2 separate regions of the Homo sapiens genome follow, and region 1 is linked to region 2. The links are contacts of gene promoters, found by promoter capture Hi-C in human tissues and cell types (Jung and others, 2019). All regions are on one chromosome and are shown on one strand. Each heading gives the region's core, a stretch centred on a gene start or on the middle of the fragment in contact. The rest is flanking DNA. Distances are from core to core; before and after follow the strand shown. Region 1 overlaps FOXJ3 (forkhead box J3). Region 2 holds the start of ERMAP (erythroblast membrane associated protein (Scianna blood group)).

Evidence for each region. Contacts are between HindIII fragments. The study calls those that stand out against the background at their distance.
Region 1: a contact is called between a fragment that was not itself captured here and the fragment with the promoter of ERMAP in region 2, in 2 of the 25 tissues and cell types used here (hippocampus and lymphoblastoid cells).

The regions. Positions count from the first base shown.
Region 1 is chr1:42,328,682-42,332,578 of GRCh38, reverse strand. All of the region lies in intron 1 of FOXJ3 (forkhead box J3), which reads left to right. Among named protein-coding and RNA genes, the nearest start is that of FOXJ3, 4.6 kb to the left of the region's middle. The HindIII fragment of the contact is 5,072 bases long and covers 1-3,837 here.
Region 2 is chr1:42,815,384-42,819,434 of GRCh38, reverse strand. It overlaps ERMAP (erythroblast membrane associated protein (Scianna blood group)), which reads right to left and starts at 2,313. Exons shown (of 12, transcript NM_001017922.2): 1 at 2,182-2,313. It overlaps SVBP (small vasohibin binding protein), which reads left to right and starts at 2,038. Exons shown (of 3, transcript NM_199342.4): 1 at 2,038-2,245; 2 at 2,855-3,004. The coding sequence starts at 2,891. RefSeq lists silencers at 1,895-2,184, 2,335-2,534, 3,095-3,164. The HindIII fragment of the contact is 4,586 bases long and covers 1-3,686 here.

The DNA.
Region 1 (3,897 bases), core at 52-2,551, 490 kb after region 2:
TCAGCTGAGTGTCCTGGGAGTGGAGAGACTGATTAGAGTGCTTATGGAGAATTTTAGGAATAAGCTGATGAGGGTCTGATATAAGATAGTGGTTGTAGGAATAAAATAATAGCTAACATTTACTTACTGTATGACAGGTATTCTAAGCGCCTACGTTTGTTTAATTCATTAAATCTTCATAATAAGGTATTAAAATCAGAAGGGACTTTGGGCAAGTTGCTTAACCTTATGCATGTAATTATTCCCATATACAATGAACGGTTAGATGAAAGGTAGATTTTGCACTGACCAGGGATATAGATGCTAGTAAAACACATCAGTAGATGTGTGTTGGGAGGGTAGTAGTATAATGAAGAAAGAGCTTTGAGGTTTGGAATTTTGGGTCTTGAAATAGGCTAATAGCATTCTGAGAAGAACCAGAAAGTGCATCATTTCCAGGATAGGAAGATTTTCTACAAGGGCAGGGTGTTGACAGTTTCAAATGCGGTGTAGAAGTTCAGAAACAGTGACTACAATGAAAAGACAATTGAATTAAAGCAGAAGAGATAATTTGTAAACTTAGAGAGAAAATTGAAAGGAGGGGTAAGAATAGATGCCAGATTTGTTTTTCACAGGATTTGTAGAGACATTAGTATCTGATATGGTAATTATTAGTATTTCCTTAAAAAAAGAAACAAACTTATGTTCCAAAGCCAGTGATTTTATACTTTAACGCTTCTCTCCTTAAACTTTTATTCTTTTTTTTTTTTAAAAAAGCTTTCTTGAAGTATAATTCACATACCATTTCATTCACACATTTAAAGTATACAAGTCAGTGGTTTTTAGTGTATTCACAGAGTTGTGCAACCATCACCACAGTCATTTTTAGGACAGCATTTCAAAAAAAAGCCTTGTACCCATTGGCAGTCACTCCCCGTACCCTCACCTCCAGGCAGCCACTAATGTACTTACAATCTTGTAGAGATGTTGATAATTCCAAATGCCTGTTGTGGGCATTTCATACAACATACGGTCTTTTGTGTCTGACTTCTTTCACTTGCATATGTTTCAAGGCCCATCCATGTAGCATGTATCAGTATTTCATTCCTTTTTATTGCCAAATAATATTCCACTGTATGTATATACTACGTTGATAGCCATTGCTTTAGTTGATGGACATTTGAGTTTCTTATTCTTTCATTATTATTATTATTATTTGAGACAGAGTTTCTCTCTGTCGCCTAGGCTGGAGTGCAGTGGCGCCATCTCGGCTCGCTGCAACCTCTGCCTCCCAGGTTCAAGCGATTCTCCCACCTCACCCTCCACAGTAGCTGGGATTACAGGCGTGCACCACCATGCCCCGCTAATTTCTGCGTTTTTAGTGGAGACGAGGTTTCACCATGTTGGCCAGGCTGGTCTTTGAACTCCTGACCTCAAGTGGTCTGCCTGCCTCGGCCTCCCAAAGTGCTGAGACTACAGGTGTAAGCCACCGCGCCTGGTCAAGTTTCTTAATTCTTTTAAACTCCTCCCCATTTTCATTGAATCTTCACCCTGCCAACCCCTCACATGGCCTTCTTTTAGATTATAACCTCTGCCATGCATTTTGCTAAGCATTGGGGATATAAAGATGAATAAGACATGGCCCTTGAACATTCATATAGTGTTTTATTGGTTTATATACATTTTCTCATACATTCTCTAATTTGATCTCAACAACCCTGTGATAAAGGCAGAATATCTTAAAGATGAGCAATTTGAAGTTTAGGTGACCTGCTTAGGGTTGTACACTTAAGTAATTGGTGGAGCAGGTAGGTCTTCTTAGTTCATATTTGTGCTATTTCCACTACTCTGTGCTGCTGTTTTAACTTAAAAATTCTCATGTAATTTCCTGGAGACTTAGAGGGACTGGAAAATGTACTGACTCAAAGAATCACTGTTTTTTTTTGTTTGTTTGTTTTGTTTTTGAGACAGGGTCTCACTCTTGCCCAGGCTGGAGTGCAGTGGCACGATCATGGCTCATTGCAACCTCAACCTCCTGGGCCCCAGTGATCCTCCCACCTCAGCCCCCTAAGTAGCTGGGACTACAGGTGCGCGCCACCATGCTCAGCTAATTTTTGTATTTTTTGTAGAGAAGTGGTTTCGCTATGTTGCCCAGGCTGGTCGCTAACTCCCGGGCTCAAGTGATCCGCCAACCCTGGCCTCCCAAAGCGCTAGGATTACAGGCGTGAGCCACTGCAGTCAGCCCACTGATTTTCTTCCGGACTTAAAATGAAGATTTTTTTCCCTAGATTCTGCCACTTGTTTGTTCTGTGTTTTAGACAAATCATTTCATATTTCTTTTCTTTCAGAACTTTCATGGAGTTCATGTGATGATAATGTAATGATAATAATAGCTAACATTTTTTGAAGCCTTACTATGGGCCTAAAAGTGTTCTAAGTACTCTACATTCATTATCCATATCTTACAACCCTTAATATTTTATAAATTTTATAAGTAGGTTTTATAAATATATCGTAGATTTTATAAGTTTATTGTAGTTGTAAATTTTATAAATACGGTAGTTTTACAGATGAGGAAATGGGCACAGAGAGGTTGATTTGACTAAGGGAACATAGCTAGGAATGGAAAGAGCCAGGATTTGAACCCTTGTAGTCTATTTTCAGAACTCTGTGGCTCTTAATCACTACACTGTTCTGTTTACTGTGTTACGAATTAATAGAGGATAATATTTCAAGTAAGGGCATGATAGAATATGAAGATTTGATTTTGAATGTAGTTGGGGAAACAGTTAAACAGCAATTTTAACTTGACATCGCATCCGCATTTCTTTTAAAAGTGGACTTAACACTACAGTGTACAAAGATACATATTGTTTAGACATTTTTTTGTTTGTCCCTGCTCAAAACTTCTCAGCTCAGAAATTACATTATTTTCACTGATCTTCACTGTTGGCTTTGTTAGTCACTTAGCTTTCCACATTGCCACTATTCAGAAACCTTGGCTTGAGACAGCTAAAGCTCACTTTTACCTCTCTCCTCAGCCTTCCTTTAACTGTGAATTTTTGTTTTCCATTTTGAACAGTTAGCCTTTCAGTCCTAGAGGGGGTTATTCTTTACCTCTTCCACTCCAAAACCCAGAAAACACCACAGTGGCGTTTTATAACAACTGTCACAAAATTTGACCATCTTAATTGGCATAACATGATTTTAGTGCACAAATAAGAACCAAAGCATAGTGTTTTGGTTAAAGAGATTGACTTACTCTGAAATTGGAAAAGGCATCTGCTGTACAGGATTTTTGATTTAATAGAATTTGTTATAACCAGATCAGCAGAGCATTATTACTGTGGGCCATCTGTTGGAATATGGAAATAGCTTTGTTATATGGAACCAGATGTTGTTTTTATATTTATAACAATGACATTCTACTTATTTTAAGTAACCTTTTGTAGTTAGGTACCTTTGGCTGCGATTCTATTTGACATGTATATCAACTGATAACCTGAGAATGTGATGTCTTTCAAAGTGGCTATTATTCTGTGGGATCAGGACAACACAGATGAAACAAAAAGGAAATGAGACTCATACAGTGTCAAACTTTAGTGCTATAACAAGATAAAATATAGGAAAAATGACCTGGTGTGGTGGCTCACGCCTGTAAACCTAGCATCTTGGGAGGCCGAGGCAGGCGGATCACTTGAGGTCAGGAGTTTGAGACCAGCCTGGTCCACATAGTGAAATCTCGTCTCTACTAAAAATACAAAAATAAGCTGGGCATGGTTGTGGGTTCCTGCAGTCCCAGCTATTTGGGAAGCTGAGGCAGGAGAATCGCTTGAACCTGGGAGGCCGAGGTTGCAATGCCGCTGCATTCTAGTCTGGGCAAGGGAGTAAGACATTGTCTCAAAAAAAAAAAAAAAA
Region 2 (4,051 bases), core at 1,064-3,563:
TGGAAAGAATAGAGAGGGGACTTTGACAGTGTTCAGCCTCAACATTCACTCCCTCCTGGCTCCAACCTTCACCTTCCCAATAAAGAATGTAGAATCCCAAACTGGTATCTCCAGTTCCGTTCTTTTCTGAAATCTTCTAATTGCTCACTGGACAATTCTTCTTGCCTATTGCCACTTGAAGCGTAATCTAGCTCTTTCTCTCTCTCGGTCCCTCTCTTGCGCGCGCGCACACACACACACACACACACACACACACACACACACGCTCCTAACTTATCCTCTTCCTCACCGTTTCCCAAACCAACTCATCACACCTTCTCCACTTTCAACAGTGGCTCAGTGGCACCACTACTTTTCCAGTCTTCCATGTGGCTTTTCCACTCCTCCATTCCCTATAGCTGGTTTGTTTTTAGCTGGCTTCTAAAGGTCCTGCCGTGTCTTCAGCTGTAATCTAGTTCATAGCTTATATGAACGTTATAAACCATACCATGTGACACAAATGTAAAATACCAGTACTACATCAAGATTTCTGAAATAGACTCTGACTTGGTTACTTTTATTAATAATAATCGAATCAGCATTTGTATAGGGTTTTTAAAAAGACATTTAATGTACTTTCCTCTGATTGCTAAAGTATAAACGTTTACTGTAGAAATTTTGGAAAAGCTGGGCGCAATTGCTCACATCTGTAATCCCAGCACTCTGGGAGACTGAGGCAGGAGGATCACTTGAGCCCAGGATTTCCAGATCACCCTGGGAAACACAGTGAGACTCCATCTCTACAAAAAAATTTTAAAAAATTAGCCAGGCATGATGGTGTGTGCCTGTAGTCCCAGATACTTTGGAGGCTGAGGTGGGAGGATTGCTTGAGCCCAGGTTACAGTGAGTTATGATCACACCACTGCACTCCAGCCTGGGTGACAGAGCAAGACCCCATCTATTTTTTAAAAATTAAATAAATAAAAAATAAACATTGTGCAGTAGATCTCTAGAACTTTTTCACCTTACAAACCTAAAATTCTATACCCTTTAAACAATTCCTCTTTTCCCTCTCTCCTAGCCACTGGCAGTCACCATTCTACTTTCTGTTTCTTAGACTTTGATTGCTTTAGATACTTCATATGAATGGAAACATGCAGTATTTGTCTTTTTGGGGCATTGTGCTCACTTTTAAGGCTTTTGATACCTAGTACTAAACTGACCTCCAGAAAGGCTGTTAACGATTTACAGTTTGACTGGAAGCGTGTGTCCATCTGGGCTGAGTTCATTGCTTGCTTAGCATCTATCAGTTGTTTCAATTCTTGCCAGTTTGATAGAGGAACAAATAGTGGACCCAAACAGGGTTTTACTTTGGATAAGGCCATTGTCCTATGAATCCTGGCTGAAATATTTGCTCCAGCACTTAGAAGCTGTGTGACCCGGGACAACTCACTTAACTTTTCAATGCTTCTGTTCCCTTATGTGTAAATGGGGATAATAATATACACGTATACATTATACACACTTATTATGAGGAATTAGTTAATAAATGTGAAGCTGTAAGAACAGTGCCTGGAATATAGTAAGCCCAAATGTAAGGTAGCTATTATCATTTTTGTCAATCCTTGCTAATGTAATACCTGGAAAATTACAGCCAGCTATTTTAATTTACATCTCCTCGGTAATCAGTTGAACGTGAATGTTCTCTGTATTTATACTGGCTATTGGTACTTCTGTCAAGATTTCCTTTTTCAAAGCACTGTGGCAAACGGGATCTCACTTGATCCTCCCAATAAACTCATGAATGAAGAAGGTGGCAATCATCAATCCCCACTTTTCGAATTAAGAAATTGAGCCTCGGAATTCGAATTCTGAGCAATTCCAATTCCAGGATTCGGATCTCACCCTCTAAAACCTAGTAGCTGTTGCAGAAAATATAACGGGAAAAAGCTTTGGTTAGCCGTAACCACCACCCACCCCGGTGTGGCTCCGCCCCTGCCCCGCCCCGGCACCGGCTTGCCCCGCCCCGCCCTCTACGCGGGTTTCCAGCCATCCTCTCTGCGCACGCGCGGCCGCTCCTGCGGGCGGAAGCCTCCTGGCGCTCGGCCCTGCGCCCCTCCCCCCGGCGCGCGGCCCCGCCCAGGACGAGGGGCGGTGGGCAGGCAGCGCTGGGTCCAGTGGTCGGGGGAAGGCGAGGATTACCCTCCCGGAGGCGTTGTCTGCGACTCGGCGGAGGCTCCAACTTCCAGTGGCCCGGTCGGGAAAGGTACAGACTCCCAAGCCTCTTGGTCGGCGGCTCCAGCGACCGCCATTTTCCTCCAGGAGAGGGAAGAGGGCAGGAGGCGGGGGCCGTCCCCTGGGGCCGGGCGGGCCGGGGCGGGGTCGGGGGGCCGGGCGGTGGGGGGCGGGCCCGGCTGGCTATGGGGCCCGGCCCCCTGGCCCCAGGAGCGGCTGCTGCGGCGGAGTTAGGCCGGCCGCAGTGGGAAAACCCTGGGCGCCCTCTGGGTCTCAGCGTCCCATTAGGACGGTTCCGCGCTGGGTGCCGCACGCCGCACAGTGGGCAACGCTTTCACAGGGGTCTTTGCATTTCACCCGCACACAGCAGCTCCTGGAGGGAGGCCAGGAAAACACTTAACCCATTTTGCAGACAGAAAACTAAGGCTCAAAGTGGGGAGGAGACTTGCCCAGGGACACCCAGCGAGGTTGTGGCCTTGGGACTCGGTTCCTACTCCCCCACATCCAGCGCCCTTGCCACCAGACCACTCTGCCTCACCTGGCAAAGGATGGGGCGGAGCTAAAGGATTAGAGGAGTAACTGGCAGGGTATTTTTTGTTTTGTTTTGTTTTGAAGATCTGCCTCTTTCTGTACCACCCAGATCAGAGCCTCCTAAGAAATATCCAGAAGTCAAGCCATGGATCCACCTGCACGTAAAGAAAAAACCAAAGTTAAAGAATCTGTCAGCAGAGTTGAGAAGGCCAAACAGAAATCAGCCCAGCAGGAGCTGAAGCAGAGACAAAGAGCAGAGGTGAGATTAAGGCGGAGGCTCTGTATGCCTGTAGTCTGCTGGAGATGATGCTGGAATAGAGAAACAGCAGAAAGGAGAACTGACAGCGAGCCATACTTGCCTCCAGGCAGGATGGGTGTTCTCCCAGGTTTAGAGGGGACAACACTGAGGTTCAGAATGGTGAGGTGGCAGCCCAGAATCACATGCCAAGTTAGTGTCAGAACCCCAGTCTGGTGCGGAGCTTTTGTGGTAAGAGACCCAAGGGAAGGAAGAAAGGAAAAAAAATGATATGTAAGGGGAAAGAAGGGGTCAGAATGAGAGAGAGCACGCAAGTGTCAGACACCCCCAGTACAGATGTTCTGGATTTGGTGCGGAAAGCAGCTACTCATGCCAGGTAGAGGCCCAAGCTTTAAACTCACCAGTGTGTTCCTTTGTTCTCTCAACGATTACAATCAACTTGAGAATAAAAAGCTTTAAACTTTACCCTGCCAATATTGAGCCACATACAGACATAAGTATTTTATTTTAGTATTTAATGTCAGGGAAAATCTTGCTGGTCTCTTTTTCCCTCTTTGTTTTGTTTATCTGTCTGCTTTGTTCATTTCCTGTCTTACATCCTTTTACTTCTCCATGGACAACTACTTTTTTTTATACTTTTACATTCAAATATATTAATAGATATCCTTGAACAATATACAGTAGTATTTTAAATTTTTACATTAATAAAATTCCTGCATTTTATTTTGCATTTTGCTTACATTGTTTTTTAGAACTATTCATGCCAATATAAGAATTTAGTTTATTCTCATTAATTTTTATAATAGTCTATTTTATGCATCCATTTTACTTAGTATATTTATTCATTCTTACAGAGATGCACATTTAAATTATTTATAGTATTTTTTGCTATTACAAACATTGCTGTAGTGAAAAGCTTTTAGGTGTCTCCTTTGGCACCTGCCTTAGAATTTCTGTAGGTTATTTAACTAGAAAAATTACTGGGTACATTCTCAATTTTACTAGACATTGCCACATTGCTTTTTTTTTTTGAGATGGAGTCTCTTTTTA